Regions from separate parts of the Homo sapiens genome. Here all the other regions are linked to region 3. The links are contacts of gene promoters, found by promoter capture Hi-C in blood cells and fetal thymus (Javierre and others, 2016). All regions are on one chromosome and are shown on one strand. Each heading gives the region's core, a stretch centred on a gene start or on the middle of the fragment in contact. The rest is flanking DNA. Distances are from core to core; before and after follow the strand shown.

Region 1 (3,662 bases), core at 231-2,730, 280 kb before region 3:
ATTTTTACTTTAATTTAGTTTTAATGAAATTTAGATTTAAATAATCACATGTGGACAGCAGCTTCTGAATTGGACAGCATGGACCTGGAAGCTTTTTCAAAGCACATGTCTAGCACCTGGGCTGCAGTGACTCAAGGGCTGGGCTTAGTTGGCACTGTTGTTTGGAGCGTTTCCACATGGCCTCTGAATTTCCCCTGTGGTTTGGGCTTCTTACAGCGTGGCAGTTGAGAGGAAGCAGAGCAGTTTCTGGAGAGTGAACTTTTTAAAAATTAAAACCATTTTTTTCAAGTTTTTTCTAGAGATAGGGTCTTGCTGTGTTGCCCAGGCTGGTCTCAAACTCCTGGCCTCAAACAATCCTCCTGCCTTGGCCTCCCAAAGCAGTGGGATTACAGGCATGAGCTACCATGCCTGGCCACCATGGAAGCTGCCACCATGGAAGCTGCCACCAAGGAAGCTGCATGGCCTTTTATGACCCAGTCTCATAAGTCACAATGCACCACTTCCATTACACCCTAATGGTCAAAGTAACCACCAGCCAGATTCAAGGGGAGGGGACATAACCACCACCTCTCATGGAGGAGTGTCAAAGAATTTGAGGCCATTTTTAAAAATCACCACTGGGTCACTTCTCTCTTCTTCCTGCCTTGAACATGGATCTCATGGCAGGAGCTGCAGCAGCTCCTACTGAATAAACCATGAATAAAACGCAAGTTAATCACAGGGACAGGGGTTCTCACCAATGCTAGTCACTGCCTAGGTCTGGTCCACTTTTTAACCGACATTAAGTGTTCCATGACTTGCAGCTGAAGTATTTCCAGCAAAAACACTAATTTTACATCTTTTAAGGAAACCTGAACTTGATTTTCAAAAAAGCCAAAATAAATTTTTCCTCTAATCTAAAATATCAGGGCTTCTTTCTCATTATAAAACCTGGAAATGCTCATTATAGCAAATTTGGAACACATAGAAATAAAGAAGAAAATAGCAATCATCTTTAATCTCTCCATGCAGTGCTAACCATCTTGCTCCATTTCTTTCTGAATGAGTTTCTATCACACACGCAATTTTCTATCCTGCAGTTCACTTAACATTACATTTTTCCTATTTTCTCCTGACATTAAGCATTTGTCACAATCATCATTTTTAATGACTGCATATTATATTCTACTCTATGGATTTAGAATAATTTATTTAACCATCGCTGGGCATCTAAGTTGTTGAAAATGTTTCTGTATTAAAAACAAACATATTTAACAGGCATTTTTATATGTAAATCTTTAGCTACCTCTCTATTTCCCTGAGCTAGATTCTATAAGCAAACTTAGCGAGTGGAAGAGAAGGAATATTTTTTAAGGCTGGTAACATAATGACAATCCACCTTCCAGAGAGATTGTACTTTTTTACCTTCCCAGAGGATACGCACTGCAAAATCACTACATTTTTAGCCAGCGTTGCCTACTAAAAAATTTTTTTCTATCCTTGGCTAATTTGGTAGGTAAAATGATATCTGTTGTTTAATTTTTATTTCTTTGATTACATGTAGGATGAATAGAGTTTGACATGTTTGTCAGCTCGTTGTACTACTGTTTTTATAAATTTTTTATCTATGCCTTTTCTCCATGTTTCTCTTAGAGGTCTTTGTGTTTTGCTTCAATTTGTATGAGTATCTTGCATATTGTGTACAGATACGTGGCTGAAGAGGATCCTGGTCATAAACCTCACTCTAGAACTTGCCCAAACATTTTAAACATGTGATTTTGATGCCTAGAACCTTGCTTTTCAATCTACTGTTTCACTTTATAAGGTCCTGACTAACTCCTGGGTTATCCATAAATGCTTAAAAAAAAAAAAAAAGCAAGCCAGGTACAGTGGTACCTATAAGCCTAGCACTTTGGGAGGCTGAGATGGGAGAGAGGATCATTTGAGGCCATGAGGTTGAGACCAGCCTGGGCAACATAGCGAGACCCCTGTCTCTACAAAAAAAATAAAAATATTAGTAGGGTGTAGTGGCAAGCACCCGTAGTCCCAGCTACTAAGGAGGTTTGAGGTGGGAGTATCCCTTGAGCCCAGGAGTTCCAAGCGGCAAGTGATCATTCCATAGCACTCCAGCCTGGGTGACAGAGCAAGACCTTTTCTCAAAAACAAACAAACAAACAAAAACAGTTCTAATCATTTTTACTTAGGCCTCTGTCTTCTTGACCTTTCTGTCACATTTCACACTGTTTACTAATAACTACTTCAAATATTTCCTTTTGACTTTTAAGACTTTGCCCATTGTATTAACATTGGATATCCTAACATGGCCCCCACTTCCTATCTCAGCTGCAGTGGAGCAGAGAAGAAAAATTATGAATTCAAAATTAGAGAATTTGTGTTTGGGTCTTGCCACCTGGTATTAGTTGGGTATGGCTACTCTGAGTCTCAGCCCTCATCTTATAAATAATTAGAAGCAATAATTACCCTCAGAGTTGTGTGAGAATCAATTGAGGTGACACCTGTGAAAACGCTCTATGAACCGTCAAGCCCCCCATAAATGTGAATATTTTCTTCCTTCCTCTCCCCCTCCCTCTTCCCCTCCTTCCCTACTTTCTCCTCCTCCTCTCCTCCTTCTCTTCCTTCTCTGCTTCTTACATCTGGCAGAAATTCAAGTACCATTTGATTCAGCTCAAGTAAAAATACATGTGAAATTGCTTTTAAACTACAAACAAGTATTATTAACACTCTCTTCTGTCAGATACAGTGTTGCCAACTCAGTCCTTTTCACCTTCAAAAAACCTCTCAGAATCCCATGGCTTGATGTTTTATATTATTATTTAATTATTAGTTTATTTAGCCTTCCGTGTGTTTATGTCCTAGCCTTTGTTGGATTCCAAGCTTTTTAAGAGCAGAAAGCATGTACCTTTACACGAGCTTTATAGTGCCTTGCAGTCAATCAGTATTGACTGATGGCTTTGCTAGGTCGCTGCTTAATCCAATGAAAGAACACAGAATATTTGAGGAAGGGTAAGTGGCTCAGAGTGGCTGCTGTGGATGGTTCAGAGGTGAGAATCTAGAGAGGAGGCTGGTTGGTAGGCAGAGGCCAGATTACCAAGGGAGGAAATCTGGAATTTTGCCTTTAACAGACGGGAAGATGTTGGGTGATTTTTCAGTTGGGAAATGACATTATTGGAATTCTGTTTGGAGCACATTTTATTTATCTCTAAATGCCCCAGAGCATAGTACATTACTTGATACTTAGGAATTGCCCTGCCAATGTGTGTTCAATTGCTAGACGTAGTTTTATCACCCAATGGAATATTCTTCAATTGTTTGGTTGTTCTGAAGAAGAAATACTTACTGTCTTTTAAGGAAGATACAGACCCCACCTGGAGACCAATACTTCTATCCACTTGGGAACAAAAGGAAAAGTTTTGGCCGGGCGCGGTGGCTCAGGCCTGTCATCCCAACAATTTGGGAGCCTGAGGTGGATGAATCACTTGAGGCCAGGAGTTTGAGACCAGCCTGGCCAAGATGGTAAAATCCCATCTCTACTAAAAATACAAAAAGTAGCCAGCTGTTGTGGTGCGTGCCTGTAGTTCCAGCTACTTGGGAGGCTGAGGCATGAGAATTGCTTGAACCCAGGAGATGGAGGTTGCAGAGAGCCGAGATCATGCCACTGCACT
Region 2 (3,531 bases), core at 464-2,963, 310 kb before region 3:
CGTCCTTGGTCCTGCCTTCTGCTCTGTATCAGAGGGCACTGCTGCAGGGCAGGGCCAGTTCTCTTCTAGCTCCCGAGTCATTCCCGAGGGCCATTCCTGCCCACCCCCTCTGGGGCAACAGGCTGTGGGACCTACACCTGCTCCAGGCAGAGCTATTTCCTGCCCAGTCTGGCCAGCTCTGAGGGCAGCACGGAGTCTCCCAAGGCTCCAGATCCAGGCTGGGGCATCCCCAGGGAACACGAGAGACACTGGTTCCCCCATAGATGCCTGGTTACCCACAGGAGAGCAGAGGGCTGACCTGGAGAGGGTGGCCTCAACCTCACAGTGCCCAGGGACAATTCTTAGGCCTCCCAGGACAGATGCTCCCCTTGGGCAATGGTGGTGCCAAGTGAAAGGAAGATAAGAAGTCAGGAGGAGTGGTGGCTGCTCCCATCTGGCCAAGGTCATGCCATTAGTTGGCTACATTTGCAGGCACAGGCTGGCCTGATTAACCAGGTAGGGCTTGGGGATGGTGAGACTCTGGTGGATTTTGTGTGTCTTGGAGAGAAGGCACCTGTGGAAGGCTGGGTATCCAGACAGCCCTTGGGGACATTCTGGCCCCCTTACACAGAAGTGTTCTAAGGACCCCCTGTAGGTTCCCTGTGGCCAGAAGTACCTTCCCTCTGGTGCCCAAGGACCCAGGCTTTCATGGACCTCCAGGTCCTGAATGTCTTAGGGAATGGGATGAGGCTCAGGCCAAGGAGAAGGTTCTCCTGCTCCTACTCCCTCTCCTGCTCTCCATTCCCTGCGGGGTCTCTCTCCCTTAGACCCAGCTCTGAGAGCTGCCCATCCCTGTCCCAAAGCCTCCCCTGGTGTGGCCTAGAAGACTATGCCAAACAAGGGCTGCAAAACAAAGTCCCCATTCTGAGCCGAAACGGGTAGAACAGTAAACAAGTCAAGCAGGCAGGCTCCATGCAGCCAGGGTGGGGGGATATTTTCCCCCTCTTAGCTGATGTGGAATGTCAAAGAGGCTGAAATAAAAGTTGGAATGACAAGAGGCCAGCCCTAGTGGGGAGTAATTCACAGAGTTACTACCTGGTGGAGGATTAGGAGCGTTGCCTGCCTGCCAAGTGGGTACGATGTGTTATTGTCGAAAACACCACGTGAAATCCTTGTTTGTGTCAGCTCCAGGAGCATGTTGCTAATTTCGAGGAATTAAACTAATGCTTTACGTGGCTCCACAGAATATCAGAGGGGATTACAGCCTGGCAAGTCCTCGCTGACGGCCTTGCTGACCTTTGCCACACAAGGGGACTTTTTTTCTTGTTGCTTTTCCCGTGAAAGGTCCCACACGGAGCTGATACCTGGGCCTGGCACAGCCTGTGGCTCTGAGACCTGGCGTGTGGGGCCCGTCACGCCTGCCCTGACTGTTGGCTGTGGATCGATCTGGGCCCTCTCACAGCCTCTGTTCCCCGTGTGTGTCGGTCTCCTTGAGGGGAGGAGAGGTGTGGATCATCTCGGATAAAGTCCCAGGGGCATTCCCCTCTTAACCTCTGATGCGATCTCTTCCAGTCAGCAAGGCATCCTCACTCCCATAGGAAAGAGATGAAAGGCAGGCCTACTTGTTCAAGCTAGACCTCATTTGTGCTATATGATGCAGGAGAAAAAACTCCATTTCTCAATCCCTTCCACTGGGAGCTTGGAGCCTTGTTCTGCCACTTCCCGTCTCTGTGAACTTGGGCATCACCTCTCTGAGTCTCTGCAGTCTCATCTGTAAAATGGTTGTAGGAAAACTTTTCCTCTTAGAGTCTTTGGCCCACCCCTTCCTACCCTGCTAGCTGAGTGACCTTGGGAAAGTTACTTAGCCTCTCTGTGCCTCAGTCATCATCTGTGGAGTGGAGATAATGGCTATACCCACCTCTGGCTTGTGATGAGCATAGCAAGCTCACAGATGTCAAAGTTCTTACACAGGGGCCTAGCATGTAGGAGATGCTACGTATGCATTCGTTATTATTTTCAAGTGTTTTGCTCCCACTAGATGGTGAGTACATGTTAGTTCTCCTCCCCACAAACCATGGGGTAGGATAGGGAGCCCCTCCTTTCCTCCTTCTCCCTGTTCAGGCCACTCTCTCTGGCTCTTTCAGGAGTGTGAGACCTATGAGAAGTGCTGCCCCAACGTATGTGGGACCAAGAGCTGCGTGGCGGCCCGCTACATGGACGTGAAAGGGAAGAAGGGCCCAGTGGGCATGCCCAAGGAGGCCACATGTGACCACTTCATGTGTCTGCAGCAGGGCTCTGAGTGTGACATCTGGGATGGCCAGCCCGTGTGTAAGTGCAAAGACCGCTGTGAGAAGGAGCCCAGCTTTACCTGCGCCTCGGACGGCCTCACCTACTATAACCGCTGCTACATGGATGCCGAGGCCTGCTCCAAAGGCATCACACTGGCCGTTGTAACCTGCCGCTATCACTTCACCTGGCCCAACACCAGCCCCCCACCACCTGAGACCACCATGCACCCCACCACAGCCTCCCCAGAGACCCCTGAGCTGGACATGGCGGCCCCTGCGCTGCTCAACAACCCTGTGCACCAGTCGGTCACCATGGGTGAGACAGTGAGCTTCCTCTGTGATGTGGTGGGCCGGCCCCGGCCTGAGATCACCTGGGAGAAGCAGTTGGAGGATCGGGAGAATGTGGTCATGCGGCCCAACCATGTGCGTGGCAACGTGGTGGTCACCAACATTGCCCAGCTGGTCATCTATAACGCCCAGCTGCAGGATGCTGGGATCTACACCTGCACGGCCCGGAACGTGGCTGGGGTCCTGAGGGCTGATTTCCCGCTGTCGGTGGTCAGGGGTCATCAGGCTGCAGCCACCTCAGAGAGCAGCCCCAATGGCACGGCTTTCCCGGCGGCCGAGTGCCTGAAGCCCCCAGACAGTGAGGACTGTGGCGAAGAGCAGACCCGCTGGCACTTCGATGCCCAGGCCAACAACTGCCTGACCTTCACCTTCGGCCACTGCCACCGTAACCTCAACCACTTTGAGACCTATGAGGCCTGCATGCTGGCCTGCATGAGCGGGCCGCTGGCCGCGTGCAGCCTGCCCGCCCTGCAGGGGCCCTGCAAAGCCTACGCGCCTCGCTGGGCTTACAACAGCCAGACGGGCCAGTGCCAGTCCTTTGTCTATGGTGGCTGCGAGGGCAATGGCAACAACTTTGAGAGCCGTGAGGCCTGTGAGGAGTCGTGCCCCTTCCCCAGGGGGAACCAGCGCTGTCGGGCCTGCAAGCCTCGGCAGAAGCTCGTTACCAGCTTCTGTCGCAGCGACTTTGTCATCCTGGGCCGAGTCTCTGAGCTGACCGAGGAGCCTGACTCGGGCCGCGCCCTGGTGACTGTGGATGAGGTCCTAAAGGATGAGAAAATGGGCCTCAAGTTCCTGGGCCAGGAGCCATTGGAGGTCACTCTGCTTCACGTGGACTGGGCATGCCCCTGCCCCAACGTGACCGTGAGCGAGATGCCGCTCATCATCATGGGGGAGGTGGACGGCGGCATGGCCATGC
Region 3 (3,755 bases), core at 382-2,881:
GCTGGGGCAGGAGATTCGCTTGAACCCGGGAGGCGGAGGTTGCAGTGAGCCGAGATCGCACCACTGCACTCCACCCTGGGCGACCTGGCAAGGCTCCGTCTCAAAAAAAAAAAAAAAAAAAGAAAAAGAAAATACCGGGCGTGGTGGCAGACGCCTGTAGTCCCAGCTACGCGGGAAGCTGAGTCACGAGAATCGCTTGAACCCGGATGGCGGAGTTTGCAATGAACCGACATCGTGCAACTGCGCTCCGGCCTGGGCGCCAAAGCGATACTCGGTCTCAAAAAGAAAAAAAAGAAAACAGGAGAATAATGAAATTTTACTTATTTATTTTATTTATTTTTTATTTTTTTGAGACCGAGTCTCGCTCTGTCACCCAGGCTGGAGTGCCCTGGCGCAATCTCGGCTCACTGCAACCTCTGCCTCCCGGGTTCAAGCGATTCTCCTGCCTCAGCCTCCCGAGTAGCTGGGACTACAGGCGCCTGCAACCACGCCCGGCTCATTTTTGTATGTTTAGTAGAGACGGGGTTTCACTATGTTGCCCGGGCTGGTCTCGAATTCCTGAGCTCAAGTGATCCTCCCGCCGCTGCTTTCCAGCGTGCTGGGATTACAGGCGTGAGCCACCGCGCTCGGCCAAAAGTTTTAAATTTCAGTAAGTTCCAATTTATCAACTTTTTCCCTGTATAGATTGGTCTTTTGGTGTCGTCTAAAAACTATTTGCCTGGCCCTAGGTCCTGAGGATTTTTTTTAACTTTTTTTTTCCCCATAAGTGATTTATTGTTTTACATTTAAATCTATGATTCATTTTGAGTAAATTTTGTATAAGGTGAGAGGTTTAGGTTGAGGTTCTTTGGGTCTATATTCGTCCAATTGCTCCAGCATCATTTGTTGAAACGGCTCCTGATTCCATTTTTGTACCTTTCCCCCGTTCATTTCCCCTTAGAGCAGTGGGAATGTTTTTTTGTTAGTGATGATGTCATGCCTTGTGCAAAATCTGTATTAGCATCTCACAACATAAGATTTGGCTCTATTCTAACGGCATTTTCCACCACTCGATGTCCACCGTAATACTTGGCTCTCGAAGAATCACTGGGCTGGCTCCCTCACTTCATGCAGGTCTATTCTATTATCACTTACTCAGAGATTTCTCTGGCCTTTTCTTCACAGCACTTACAAAATGCGATCTATTACATATTAATTTGCTTATTTGCTTCTTGTTTTCCTATACTCCCATCCCTCCCAGAAGCTCCAAGAGAGCATACTGTTTTATCCCTAGGGCCTAGAATAATGCGTCCACGTAGTAGGTACTCAAAATTTTTTGCTTGACAGGCTAGAAAAGGTGAATAAACACAAAGCGGGAGCGAAAAGTCTACTTCTAGGTCAGGCACTCTTTGGACTTCACGCAACGTGTGAGCGCCACCTCTCGGGAAGCCAATTTGCTCGCGAACGAAGGAAGTGAGTCAGAGAACCCGGGGGTGGAGAGAAGAAAGCAAGCAGCTAACCGGAAAGGTCTGAAAAAGCTAGCGCCGGAAGTTAAACTGCAGAAAGTTGTTCCCTAGAATGACTGCCTACTCCCAAGAGGAAGCGTGGGCGAGCGGTGTTCTGCAAAATGGGCTCTCCGGCAGCGGATCTGCGCAGAAGCGTTCCGTGCGTGCAAGTGCTGCGAACCACGTGGGTCCCGGGCGCGTTTCGGGTGCTGGCGGCTGCAGCCGGAGTTCAAACCTAAGCAGCTGGAAGGGTAAGAGGTGTTCGGGATCCTGAGAGGAAAAAGAAAGGAGTGTAGTCGCGGGAGTGGGTTAGGTGAGGAGTTAGTGAAGAGATGAGTTCAGCTCTAAGAGGCGGCGAGGAGGATCGGATGGGAGGAGGGGCAGGGAGCGCCTGTGGACAAGTGCAGACCGGTCGGCGCACGTCCCACGCCACGTGGACTCGCCTTTGTCGGTGGCCGCCTTTCTCGTCAGGCCGCGACGACAGGGCTGTGCCTTATTTGTGTCTGTCGAGAGCAGTGCCGGGCACGGAGTTGGCGCTCTGTAAGTGCTTGCTGAATAAATGACGGGTGTGTGTGTCATTCATTCAGCAAGCACTGAGTGCTTACTGTTGTGTCACCGGGACCGATGTGGAGGGACATTTTTAGGGTGTATTTCTGGCGCTTTAGTCCTGTTTTCTCCTGGACAATTTATGCTTGCCCCGCACCCCATCGTGCGATTCTCCGCAGTCTTTGGGCTTTGTCTCTCTCTCTTTTTTTTTTTTTGGAAGTTGCAGAATGGTGATAAATGATTTTCTTTGCTCCTATTGACTGCTAGGCCCTGTGGCTAGGTACCATAGAGTCTCTACACAGGACTAAGTCAGCCTGGTGTGCAGGGGAGGCAGACACACAAACAGAAAATTGGACTACAGTGCTAAGATGCTGTAAGAAGAGGTTAACTAAAGGACAGGAAGATGGGGCCAAGAGATGGTGCTACTGTCTACTTTAGGGATCGTCTTTCAAGGCGAGGGGCCTCCTATCTCAAGCTGTGATACAGGGTAGGTCATGAGCGCAGTCTTCTGTAAAATGAGGGATCTGGACGGAATAGTTACTCTCTAGGCTTCCTTTCAGTATGATGTCCCGTATCAGATATTCCTAATGTCTGTAGTTCTCCCACACCCCACCGTTTATTGGCTAGTCAAAATATTCTTTGCATTGTAAAGTGTAGCATAACATTACAAGAATGGATTAATGGGTTGGGAATGCTGGGTTTTGGCCTTCATTCTGGTGCTGTGGTCCTGTTTCCTCATTTGTAAAATGAAGGGGGTTGTAAAGATATATTCTCTAAAACCCCTAATGCTATGGCTGTGGCATTAAGTCAAACTATTATTTCTTACTGCTTTGTACCGGACATCACTTTCACATTAGTAAAACTTTTCATCAGTGTAGTTTCTCCCAAGCTTGATTATTGAGAAAGATAGTGCCTTGTTTTTAACATCCTGTATCCTAGTTCCACCGCAGTGTTTGGTACACAGTAGATGTTTAAAAGAAGCTTATTAAATCAAATGGTGGCCAGGCTCATGGGGCTCACGCCTTTAATCCCAGCACTTTGGGAGGCTGAGGTGGGCAGATTACTTGAGGTCAGGAGTTGGAGACCAGCCTGGCCAACATGGTGAAACCCCATCTCTAGTAAAAAAAAATACAGAAATTAGCTGGGTGTGGTGGCACGCACCTGTAGTCCCAGCTATTTAGGAGGTTGAGGTAGGAGAATTGCTTGCCTGGGAAGTGGAGGTTGCAGTGAGCCAAGGTCGCACCACTGCACTCCATCCTGGGCGAAAGAGCAAGACTCCATACCAAAAAAAAAAAAAAAAATCAAATGGGGCTGGGTGTGGTGGCTCATGGCCATAATCCCAGCACTTTGGTAGGCTGAGGTGGGCAGATCACTTGAGGACAAGAGTTCGAGACCAGCGTGGGCAACATAGCGAAACCCCATCTCTAAAAAAACCCCACAAAAACCAAAACAAATGAAAATAAAATAAATCAAATGGGATAGAAATTATAGTCCTTGCTTTTGGATCCTTTCCCACATTGACATATTAGTTCATAGATCAGGGGACTGGGGAGGAATTGGGTTTTTACCAGAGGGAGACCTGGAGCTGACCTGACAGATTTAAACCAGCTTTATGGGATAATCCGCTTGAGACGGATGACGCTGTAGGCAAGTGATTCACTGCTGTTTCATTCCTCTACCTGCCTATCCCCAGAACCATGGCCAACTGTGAGCGTACCTTCATTG

The links. Contacts are between HindIII fragments. The CHiCAGO score rates a contact against its expected background, and 5 or more counts as called.
Region 1: a contact is called between a fragment that was not itself captured here and the fragment with the promoter of NME1 in region 3, in 8 of 17 cell types (monocytes, activated CD4 T cells, naive B cells and 5 more). The highest score is 8.6, in monocytes.
Region 2: a contact is called between a fragment that was not itself captured here and the fragment with the promoter of NME1 in region 3, in 1 of 17 cell types (neutrophils). The highest score is 7.5, in neutrophils.

What each region holds. Positions count from the first base shown.
Region 1 is chr17:50,872,809-50,876,470 of GRCh38, forward strand. No RefSeq gene overlaps it. Among named protein-coding and RNA genes, the nearest start is that of TOB1-AS1, 8.0 kb to the left of the region's middle. The HindIII fragment of the contact is 2,783 bases long and covers 90-2,872 here.
Region 2 is chr17:50,837,376-50,840,906 of GRCh38, forward strand. It overlaps WFIKKN2 (WAP, follistatin/kazal, immunoglobulin, kunitz and netrin domain containing 2), which reads left to right. Exons shown (of 2, transcript NM_175575.6): 2 at 2,124-3,531. Among named protein-coding and RNA genes, the nearest start is that of WFIKKN2, 3.6 kb to the left of the region's middle. The HindIII fragment of the contact is 3,731 bases long and covers 1-3,531 here.
Region 3 is chr17:51,151,928-51,155,682 of GRCh38, forward strand. NME1 (NME/NM23 nucleoside diphosphate kinase 1) reads left to right here and starts at 1,632. Exons shown (of 5, transcript NM_000269.3): 1 at 1,632-1,735; 2 at 3,724-3,755. The coding sequence starts at 3,728. It overlaps NME1-NME2 (NME1-NME2 readthrough), which reads left to right and starts at 1,632. Exons shown (of 9, transcript NR_037149.2): 1 at 1,632-1,735; 2 at 2,298-2,517; 3 at 3,724-3,755. RefSeq lists enhancers at 945-2,144, 1,168-1,699, 1,483-1,902, 3,299-3,755. The HindIII fragment of the contact is 18,411 bases long and covers 1-2,917 here.